Linked DNA regions of Homo sapiens: all the other regions are linked to region 1. The links are contacts of gene promoters, found by promoter capture Hi-C in blood cells and fetal thymus (Javierre and others, 2016). All regions are on one chromosome and are shown on one strand. The core of a region is centred on a gene start or on the middle of the fragment in contact, and the rest is flanking DNA. Distances in the headings are between cores, read along the strand shown. Region 1 holds the start of LENG8-AS1 (LENG8 antisense RNA 1). Region 2 holds the start of CADM4 (cell adhesion molecule 4). Region 3 holds the start of PSMD8 (proteasome 26S subunit, non-ATPase 8).

Evidence for each region. The method cuts DNA at HindIII sites, captures the fragments that hold promoters and counts their contacts. A CHiCAGO score of 5 or more calls a contact.
Region 2: the fragment with the promoter of CADM4 here is called in contact with the fragment with the promoter of LENG8-AS1 in region 1 in 1 of 17 cell types (non-activated CD4 T cells); the score reaches 5.1 in non-activated CD4 T cells.
Region 3: the fragment with the promoter of PSMD8 here is called in contact with the fragment with the promoter of LENG8-AS1 in region 1 in 3 of 17 cell types (naive CD8 T cells, naive CD4 T cells and total CD8 T cells); the score reaches 6.2 in naive CD8 T cells.

Annotation. Positions count from the first base shown.
Region 1 is chr19:54,447,716-54,451,178 of GRCh38, reverse strand. LENG8-AS1 (LENG8 antisense RNA 1) reads left to right here and starts at 2,141. Exons shown (of 3, transcript NR_126418.1): 1 at 2,141-2,617; 2 at 2,964-3,014. It overlaps LENG8 (leukocyte receptor cluster member 8), which reads right to left and starts at 1,980. Exons shown (of 16, transcript NM_052925.4): 1 at 1,869-1,980. RefSeq lists an enhancer at 1,323-2,230. The HindIII fragment of the contact is 2,202 bases long and covers 1,014-3,215 here.
Region 2 is chr19:43,638,600-43,642,271 of GRCh38, reverse strand. It overlaps CADM4 (cell adhesion molecule 4), which reads left to right and starts at 2,422. Exons shown (of 9, transcript NM_145296.2): 1 at 2,422-2,545. The coding sequence starts at 2,482. RefSeq lists a silencer at 2,399-2,538. The HindIII fragment of the contact is 9,580 bases long and covers 619-3,672 here.
Region 3 is chr19:38,372,633-38,376,313 of GRCh38, reverse strand. PSMD8 (proteasome 26S subunit, non-ATPase 8) reads right to left here and starts at 1,743. Exons shown (of 7, transcript NM_002812.5): 1 at 1,353-1,743; 2 at 82-154. The coding sequence starts at 1,712. RefSeq lists enhancers at 1,434-1,573, 1,204-1,834. The HindIII fragment of the contact is 10,393 bases long and covers 1-2,087 here.

The DNA of each region.
Region 1 (3,463 bases), core at 892-3,391:
TGACTGAAAAGCCACTGGGGTCAAGGATCTGAAGAGTTCTGGGTGTGGACTAGAAAGGCTGGAGTGAGGGGAAGCCCCTGGCCCCTTTGTAGAGCTCCAGGTGGAAAACGAAGGATTTGGAAACAGGGAAGCCAGAGCAGACTTCCCAAAGGGAAGGAGAAGGGTCTGAAACCCATGTGAGCAAAGAGAGGCTGTGATGAAAGGTCCAGAGGGTAGGGGTGCCTCCATCAAGGGGAAAAGGTCTACAAAAAATTCTAGGGGCCAGGCGCGGTGGCTCACGCCTGTAATCCCAGCACTTTGAGAGGCCAAGGCGGGCAGGTCACCTGAGGTCGGGAGTTCGAGACCAGCCTAACCAACATGGAGTAACCACGTCTCTACTAAAAATACCAAATTAGCTGGGCATGGTGGCATATGCCTGTAATCCCAGCTACTAGGGAGGCCGAGGCAGGAGAATCGCTTGAACACGGGAGGCGGAGGGCGGTAAGCTGAGACTGCGCCATTGCTCTCCAGCCTGGGCAACAAGAGCGAAACTCTGTCTCAAAAAAAAAAAAAAAAAAAAAGCTAGGGAGTACGGGTTGTGAAAGGAACCTGAACCAAGAGGATGGATGCTATAATGAGAAGAGTCTGAGGGAACCCTTAAGGCTGAGAGGGTGGAAAGGTTTCCGAGAACTCTGTGAAAAGGGAGGCCTTTCAGGGAGCATCGAGGGGGCTGGAAGAATATTGGAGAAGAGAAGAAAATTTTGAGAGGAAAAGGGGATTTTCCGGAAGTTAACCCTGGAAGCAAGTGGTCGTTGAGCGTTCCTGAGAATGCCAACGTGAACCCCAACGTGAAGAAATGGGTTCTTAGCACTGACAGACTGATTTCAAAAAGGTCTCCGAAGGGCAGTAAAGAGACCTACGTGGGAGTCCTCAGTGGGACTACCCCTGCCTGCTTCCACGGGAGGTTCCCGGAAGCAGGGGTAGGGCTGGGAGAGAAAAGGGATCACCGTGGTTGGGTGTCTGGACATAAAGCTTTGGGAATGCCAAAGAAGACCCAAAACATGTTCAACGAATTAAGAGTGGGGTACAGAGAGAATTGGAAGAAAAGTGGAGTGTCTCCGGAGCAAGGATTCAGGAGCCTAAACTCCCGAGAGGGAGTAACTGATAAGTAGGATAATTAATCCCGCAGGAGAACCGGAATTCCCACGAGTTGACGGGATAGGAACGGGAGTCTGGAGCTGGGGAAAAGCCCTAGAAACGCAAAGGCTTAACTTAAACAGGACACAGGGCGTGGGTGGAGACGAGGGATCGTGGCGGGGACACAGGAAGAGGAGCCCCAGGGCAGAAGGGAGATTAGAGGTAAGGTCAGGAGTTGGGGGCTGGACAGAGGACTCCCGGACGGGTCTCAAGAACAGAGACAGGCATCAGACGCGAGGCCTGAGGTCCCGGGAGCACCTGGCCGTCCCGCAGGCTGGGCGAAGGCAAAGGAGGACGCCGGGTGGAGGAGGCCGCTCGGATCCCCACGACTAGCCACGGAGCCACTGCCCAGGCCGCGCCTGCGCACCACGCCCCAGAAAGACGCGCAGGAGCCGCCCGTCGCCCGGGGCAACACCCGGTCAACGGCGAGTGAGGGGCGCCCCGGGGCCCCGAGAACTCCAAGGGAGAGGAACGGAAATTAGAAGACGACGGCGCACGCGCGCTAGTGCCCGAACGCGCGGCCCCAGGCCCGGTGCGCAGGCGCAGTGGCTGCCCCTGCGCCGCCACACCCTGTCGACGCTCGCGCGCGGCGTCTGCTGCTGCGACGGCCGAGAAGGCCTCGGGGCTCGCGGGGCGCAAGACCAAAAGGAGATGCTATCCCCGCCCGCCTGCTCGCCTGCCGCTCCCCTTACCAACCAGGATCCTTCGCTGCAGGGACACGCCAACAACCACCCAGGCGATCAGCAACACGGCCACGACACCGCTGTGCCACCCGGCTGGCTCTGGTCTTCTTTGGCTTCGACGTCCTGACCGCGGCGTCCTGACGTCACGCGGCGGCCTTGCACCGCCTCCCTCGGCCCTGCACAGCCAATGAACGCCACGAGCTGCGCTTGAGCCCGCCTTCCTGCCCACGCACTTACGCATGAACATTTTAAGGCAGACCGGAAGTCTGGGTGGGGACGGTGGCCCCGAGGAGACAAGCGTGGCCGCATTAGCTCTTTCTGCCTCCCACGCAGCCTTATTTTTTTTATTGTTGTTTTCTTGTTGCTGTTGTTGTTGTTCTCGGAGACGGAGTCTTGCTCTTGCTCTGTCGTCGCCCACGATAGAGTACAGTGGCGTGATCTCTGCTCACTGCAACCTCCGCCTCCTGGGTTCAAACAATTCTGCCTCAGCCTCCGGAGTAGCTGGGATTACAGGCGCGCGCCACTATGCCCGGCTAATTTTTGTGTTTTTAGTAAAGACGGGGTTTCACCATGTCGGCCAGGCTGTTCTCGAACTCCTGACCTCGTGATCCCTCCGTCTCGGCTTCCCAAAGTGCTGGGATTACGGGCGTGAGCCACCGTGCCCGGCCGCAGCCTTGTTTTGACTGAGTCAGTGGGAGCCATTACTGTTCCTAAATGTAAACTGGCGTGACAGGAGTTCCGGGATTGTCCACAGCACGGTGATGTGGAAGCCCTGGGGAGAGAATGATAAAGAAAGGGGATGAGGAACAGCTCCACCCGGAAGAGCGGGCTTCCCTAGCAAATGAATCTGGAAGGGCGCAGGGGAGGGGGCACGGCGAGTTCAGATGGACCGAGGCTGGAAGCTGACGCGGTTGGAGGGGGATGGGTGTAGCTGTTGGCAGTGGCGCTGGGGTGGAAGTGTGTGGGGTCACAGATGTGTAAGGGTGGGCGCGGAGCAGACCCCCGAAGGTCCCTGAGGTCAGGCTGAGGCATTGGACCAAATCCGTACATAGGCATTTCTCTGAACTGCGCGCCACCTTTTGAGTGCCATCTGTTTCCGTCCAGGACTCTGATACAACTATCCAGTCCGCTGCAGGGACCGGTCACTGTGTCACAGTAAGTGGTGGGATTTAAGAGGCAGTTTTCCTCCTCATGTTCTACCATTATGAACGTCTAGCTTGAAAAATACATACCATTTTCATAACTACGTATTATTTTGTTAGTGCTAGCATAGTAGATCTTTTTCCGTTATTTTACTCTGTGGGGGGGGGGGGGTTTGTTTTGTTTTTGTTTTTGTTTTCTTTTTGGTACTAAGCTTTTTGTTCTGGAATAATTTTGGATTTATTCAAAACGTTGCAAAGACCGGGCGCGCTGGCTCACGCCTGTAATCCCAACACTTTGGGAGGCCGAGATGGGTGGATCACCTGGGGTCAGGAGTTCAAGATCAGCCTGGCCAACATGGTGAAGTCCCGTCTCTACTAAAAATACAGAAATTAGCTGGGCGTGGTGGCGCGTGCACCTGTAATCCCGGCTACTCGGGAGGCTGAGGCAGGAGAATCGCTTGA
Region 2 (3,672 bases), core at 1,173-3,672, about 11 Mb after region 1:
GGCATGATCTTAGCTCACTGCAACCTCTGCCTCCCAAGTTCAGGGGATTCTCATGCCTCAGCCTTCCGACCAGCTGGGATTACAGGCACGTGCCACCACGCCTTGCTAATTTTTTTTTTTTTTTTTGGTAAAGATGGTGTTTCACCATGTTGGCCGGTTGGTCAGGCTGGTCTCAAACTCCTGACCTCAAGTGATCGGCCCACCTTGGCCTCCCAAAGTGCTGGGATTACAGGTGTGAGCCAACGCGCCCGTCAGGACCACTACTCTTGTGATGTCTTCACATGGAATGGTGGGACTTAAGGATGACAGGTGAGAACCAAACCAACATCTCCCAAGGTTCCCCTTCAGCTGGAGCAGGAGACATCTGTCAGAGCACAGAGTGAGCGGGCCTATTGGCTCCTGCGGGAAAAGGCAACTACTAGTTACCCCTTGGACCAGTATTCCAAAGGCAGATCAAACATTCCTCTCCCATCTAGCAAAAGTCACAGAATGTGAGCCCTGGAAAGAGGATTAGAGACTATCTCTTCCCAAGTCTACAGAAGCTGGGAAGCTGAGGACTGAAAAAGAAGGAAGTTGCTCAGGGCTATGGATCTGGGGACACAGGGGCAGTTAGAAGCTTGGGCTCTCAGGACAGAGAGGATTGCTGGAGCCATCGTCCTGGGGACACAGGAGTTGATAGGAGCTTGGACCCTGAGGACAGAGAGGATGCTGGGAGCCATGGTCCTGCTTCACAGGGGTTGATGGGAGCTTGGACCTGAAGGACAGAGAGGATGCTGGGAGCCGTGGTCCTGAGGACACAGGAGTTGATGGGAGCTTGGACCCTGAGGACAGAGAAGACACTGGGAGCCATGGTCCTGGGACACAAGGGTTGATGGTAGCTATGGTTTTGAGGTCAGAAAGGATACTGGGAGCTGGGTACTGAGGACAGAAAGGGTGTGTGAAGCTGAAGTCCCTTGTGGGACTGGATGTAAAATTTTTTAGTCGGAATAAAAAGTAAGGATTTTCAGCCAGGCATGGTGGCTCACGCCTGTAATCCAGCACTTTGGGAGGCCAGACAGATGGATCACCTGAGGTAAGGAGTTCAAGACCAGCCTGGCCAGCATGGCAAAACTCCGTCTCTACTAAAAATATAAAAATTAGCTAGGCATGGTGGCGGGCGCCTGTAATCTCAGCTACTCGGGAGGCTGAGGCAGGAGAATCACTGGAACCTGGGAGGCAGAGGTTGCAGTGAGTCGAGATCGTGCCACTGCACTCCAGCCTGGGCAACAGAGCGAGACTCCGTCTGGGCGGGGAGGGGGGAGGGGGGAAGGAAAGATGTTCATAATTGGCACTTCTGGACCTCAGTTTGCCTGACAAATGGGCATGAGAGAGGTCGAGGCCTTCTTTCCATGGTTTCTCACTCTTTCTGGGTCCCATAGGTAATGATCCCGCATCAGGTCTACAGGGTGTCACAGAAGTGGGCTCAGGGAAACCCACTCCCAGGAGGGAGAAGGGACCTAAGTCTGGAGGGGTGAGTCACCCTCAAAGATGGGGAGAGAGGAAGGGCAGAGGCAAATACATGCAGAGAGAGGGAGAGAGGCTGGGGCAGGGAGACAGCAGGGAGGAGAGGGGACGCCAGGGCTTGGAAGGTGTTCACAGGAGCCTCTCCCTCCTGGGACCCAGGATTCAGGCTTCCTTCCAGTTAGTTCACTTTCAGGGGGCCCCTCCCGGAGAATGACGCGGAAACACGGGGTTTTCAGGTCAGGACAGGAGAGAGGGAGGGAGGGAACTGACCCCACCCCACTCCTGAGCCCCAGCCTCGCCCTGCCCTGGGAGATCCTTGACCTGCCTCGACCTCCGGACCCTCCGGACCTCCAGCTGCAGCCTCCCCTGTCCCGGTGGCTCAGCTCACAGCCTCTCGCTAGACTCCAGACACCCACCTGCCCGCAGCACGCCTCTCACACTCACCTTTCCCACGTCGCACTCCCTCCCTTACGCTCCCCCGTCACGCTGGCCACGCTCTCCCTTCGCACACACCGCACCCCACGACGCCCGCGCCCCCACCCTCGCACAGCCTCCAGCAACACCCTGCCACCCTCCCCTCCGCGCAGCGCAAGCACCCTGCATGCCAGCAACTCCGCACCCTCGCGCGCAGCACCTGGGCCCGCACGCAGCACCCTCACCCAACACCCTCCATTTCCCGCGCTCACCGAGATCCCCCACCTGCTCCCACGCCGCTGTCGCCCTCCCGCGCACCCCTTCCCGCCCTCCTCACCCCTCTCCTCTCCAGCTTTCGCACCCCGCACCGTTCCCCCACCGTGCCGTCCCCCCGATTGTCTCCGGGCCTCTCCTCCGTCTCCCCCTCCCCTCCCCGGCCCCGCCCCGGCCTCGGCGCCCCGCCCCCGGGCGGGCAGGGGGCGGGGCGCGGGGGGCGGGGCGGGCGGCGCGGGCGGTGCAGGTGCCGGGCCGGGAGCGAGCGGCGGCGGCGGCGGCGGCGGCACCATGGGCCGGGCCCGGCGCTTCCAGTGGCCGCTGCTGCTGCTGTGGGCGGCCGCGGCGGGGCCAGGTAGGGTCGGGGGCCGGGGTCGGCCGGCCGGGCTGGGGCGGGGGGCGCGCTGTGGTGACAGCCCGGCAGCCTCGGGGCCGCAGAGGCCGAACAATGCGCGCGGGGCCGGGCCGGGCCCCCTCCCCGGGACAAAGCGCAGCGCGGGCCGGGAGCCGGGAGCGACGAGCGGGGGAGGGGGCGCGGGGCCCGGCCGCCGTGCCGCAGCCCCCCCACCCGCGCAGGCTGGATCCCGGCGGGGACAAAGGGCCCGAGACCCCCCTACACACACAAGTCCGCCCTCCCCAGGCCGGTCCCGCTGTCCTTCTGTCCAGTCTCTGCGTCCCTCTGTCCGCCCGTCTCTGAACCCCCCCGTCTGGCTCCTCGTCCCCCTACCCTTGTCCTCTATCCCTCAGTCTCGAAGTCCTGTCCCTCCTTCTGTCTGTCTCCCTCTCTTCTTGCCTCGGTGTTCCTCATCTATTCTGTCTTTGTCCCCTACCTCTGTCCCCTGGTCTCTGTCCCCTTTTCCTGGGTCACTCTGTCCCCTCCATCATCCTGTCTATTCTCTTTCCCCCGGATTTCTGCCCTCCCTCTCTGCCCCTATTCTTGGTCCCTGTCTCTGTCTCGCTGTCACCCTTGTTTTTCTGTCCCTTTTTCTCTGTCCCCTATCTGCCCCATCCCCTTGTCTCTGTCCCCTGTCTTTCTGTCACTCGTTTCTCTAACCCTTTCTGTCACCTGTCTCTTTCCCCCTTCTCTGTCCCACTATCTCCATCCCTGTCTTTCTGCTGTGCCTCCTCTCTCTACGCTTACAGCCTCCATCCCGGGATCTCCCATTCCCATCCTACCTTCCTCCCTCTCTCTATCCCTCTGTGCCCCTGAAGAGGAATTCAGTCAGGCAGGGCATTCTAAAGAGCCCTGGAGGGGAACATCTGTGTGCATGTGTGTGGGGAAGTGAGAATGGGGGACCTTGGCGTGTAGGCACACACGTGGATTCAGCGAATGCCTCTCCAAACCCTGCTCACCCATTCACACACCCAGGCTTGACTCACAGAGAAGCCCCTGTCCAGGACATCCAGGGAGCCATCCACATACCCTCATCACACACTGTGAGAAGCTGGAGACCCCCGAGGTTGGGTGACCCTGAGAATGGG
Region 3 (3,681 bases), core at 494-2,993, about 16 Mb after region 1:
GTCTCTTCCCCAACCACCAGTGCTACCATTCCTGCCATGACCCCCAGATTATCACCCCCAACCAACCCCAGTGACACTCACGGGCCAGAATTAGCTGCTGTTTGGTCAGCTTGGTCCCTGTGGTTGGCAAGAAGTTGAGCTCCAGAAGAACTAGCTGATGGGGAGGGGAGGGAGGGAAGAAAGAAAAGAAGGGAATTCAAATACAGATGACTTACCTGCTCTACGCTCTGGTCTTCCCACTTGGAAAATGGAGCTAACCATCATCCAGACTCATGAGGAATGCTTTCTCATAAAGCACTCAGAACAGGGCCTGAGCACGCAACACATGCCCATTTAAGATTACATCACATTACAATTATTAATAGCCCCACTGGGGAAACAAGGAGGGACACTCAGTGCCTGACCCAGTGGAATCACGCGGCGGTGGGGACAGGAGTACATTCCATTCTTGGCCCATCTTCCCCACAATCTATTGGGGAAGGGGTAGCTGGGCTATCCCCAAAATCTATATCTGGGAGGGGGAGGTCCAAATCTCCCCCCACAGTTCAGCCCATACATCTTTCCTTAGCAGGCTCAGCAGCTTGTTCCAAGCCACTGGATTTACACTCCCTCCCAACAGATGTTTGGTCTGAAGCACTCTGGGCCCCGTATTCTTGTTCTCTACTTGTAAGAATATTTCTTCTAGGTTCAGTCCTGCCTTCACAACTAGGCTGCCCCCTCTCCCAACAGATGCGAGCCTAAGCCCCAGATCTCTCAGATCCTAACCCAGCCTGGTCTTAACCACACACCCTCTACACAGCCCACCTTTTCAGCCTCATTCTTTTATCACTCCGGGCAGTCCTCACTTCCCACTTGGTCTTGCCTGGAATCCACCATCAGGAAAAGCCCGAATCCCAATCCTGCCACTCCGACCAGTTAAGCCTCCACGCACCAAAAATCTAACCCCTCACTCAGTTCTGCCATAAGTCTTCCAATCATTCCCCCACCACCCCCGCGTGGGTCCATTCCAGTCATCTCTCACTTAAAAAAAAAATGTAGAGACAGAGTCTCGCTATGTTGCTCAGGCTGATCTTGAACTCCTGGGCTCAAGCGACGCTCCCCCGCCTCGGCCTCCCAAAGCGCTGCGATTACAGGCGTGACCATCAACGCTCCCTGTCCCTCTCTCGCTTCTTGACGCCCTCCGAGCCCCCACTTTGGCTGTTCCAAATCTTTCACCCCATCGGATCCCCCAGCCCGCCTCAGTCTCGCTGGCACCGAGGTGGCTTCCGCGGCCCGGGACTTGGTTGGGTCCAGACACCTCGTAGCGCCTCCCACGCCCGCAACACTCGGTTTCCTGGGCCTGCCGACTTTACCTTGAGTCGACCCAGCTCTTCCCCGCACTTGCTAAGATTGGGGCTTTTACGGTTCCACTCGCCCTTGAGTTGCTCGTACATGCCGGTCGCGGCCTGCAGAACAGCGCCCGAGGTTGCCGCGGGCCCGGAGCTCGAGAAGCCTGCCGCCCCGTTCACCGCCGCGGCCGCCATCTTGCGTGATGCGGCAAGCAGACCGCCTGATTTACGGCAGCGCCGCCTACAAACGCTTGCCCGGCGGAAGTGGGGCCGAGAGGTGGAGCCCAAGGCCCGGGGCGGGGCTACAACCTGCCTCAGCCCGCCCCGGGTAGCCCGCCGTCGCTCTCGAGGTGGCGCCCTCGGAGCCCTGCCCTTAATGAACATGTCAGTTGGAGCTCCGCCTCTGTCGTCACTCAAGATGGTGACCGGAAGTTGGCTTTTGCCCTAACTGAAAATGACAGCTGTCTCAACACCACCCCCCCTACCCACCTCACGGTTCCAATAATGAACATGGCTGCCCTGGCTTCAGTCTGAGTGCTCGGGACGCTACGTAGCTGTCCTGGAGGTTCCGCCTTCGGGGCAGCGTCTCCAAGCCAAAAGGTAGCGGGTGTCGTGCCATTTGGAGAGCTGTGTTATTCTCATTTTATAGACAGACTGAGAGGCTGGGTAACCTTCCAAAGGACTAACAGCTAGGATGTGTACCTGGGGCTCCCTCTCCAGTCTTTTTCAATGCATCCTTCCACATTTTTTTCCCAAGCTTATATGAACTAACTAGTTACAAAACTCATCCAGCTCTATGGCTTTCAATGTCATGTGTAAGTGGAGGATTCACAATTTTTTTTTTTTGAGACGGAGTTTAGCTCTTGTTGTCCAGGCTGGAGTGCAATGGAGCAATCTTGGCTCACTGCATCCTCCGCCTCCTGGGTACAAGTGATTCTTCTGCCCCAGCTTCCCAAGTAGCTGGGATTACAAGCATGTGCCACCACGCCTGGCTAATTTTCGTATTTTTAGTAGAGACGTAATTTTAGTATTTTTAGTAGATGTTGGTCAGGCTGGTCTCCAACTCCTGAACTCAGGCGATTCCCTGGGCCCTGGCCTCCCGAAATGCTGGGATTACAGGCATGAGCCACCTTGCCTGGCCAGTATTCACAACTTCTTATACCAACTTCTTCCTCCACTGATTGATATTACATCTGCACATTCAACATCGCTTTTTCTCTCTTTTTAAAAAAAATTAAATTTTTTATAGAGACAGAGTCTCATTATACTGCCCAGGCTGGTCTCGAACTCCTGAGCTCAAGCGATATTCCTGCCTTGACCTCGCAAAGTGTTGGGATTAGAGGTGTGAGCCACTGCGCCTGGGCAGCACGTTTTTCTCAAACCCGACTTTCACTCTCCGTCTCCACCATTTAGAATGTCATCTCCATGAAGGCAGGACGATTTCCTTCACTACTGAATTCCCAGTATCTCAGTGCTTGGCAAATATTAGTAGACAGTCAATAAATATTTGTTGGCCAGGCATGGTGGCTCATGCCTGTAATCCCAGCACTTTGGGAAGCCGAGGCAGATAGATCACTTGAGGTCAGGAGTTCGAGACCAACCTGGCCAACATGGCGAAACCCCATCTGTACTGCAAATACCAAAAAAAAAAAACAAAAAAACCAGCTGTGCGTGGTGGCACACACCTGTAATCCCAGATACTCAGGAGCCCGAGGCAGGAGAATCGCTTAAACCCAGGAGGTCAGCTTGTAGTGAGCTGAGATTGTGCCGCTGCACTCCAGCCTGGGTGACAGAGTGAGACTCTGTCTCAGAGAAAATAAATAAATAAATGTAAAAATACCAAAAATTTGCCGGGCGTGGTGGTGCACATCTGTAGTACAGCTACTTGGGAGGCTGAGGCAGGAGAAGCACTTGAACCCGGGAGGCAGAGGTTGCAGTGAACTGAGATCGCCATTGCACTCCTGCCTGGGTGACAGAGCGAGACTGTGCTCAAAAAAAAAAAAAGAAAAAAGAAAAAAAGAAAAAGAAAGAAATTATATATGTGTTGAATTAATGAGTAAATTAATATGTGAAAGAAGTTGTGGTGGTAAAAAATGTTTTAAACAAAAATGATGGCCGGGTGTGGTGGCTCAAGTCTGTAATCTCAGCACTTTGGGAGGCTGAAGTGGATGGATCACCTGAGGTCAGGAGTTTGAGACCAGCCTAGCCAACATGGTGAAACTCCGTCTCTACTATACAAAAAATTATCTATCCAGGTATGGTGGCGGGTGCCTGCAATCCCAGTTACTCACTCGGGAGGCTGAGGCAGGAGAATCACTTGAACTTGGGAGGTGGAGGTTGCAGTGAGCCAAGA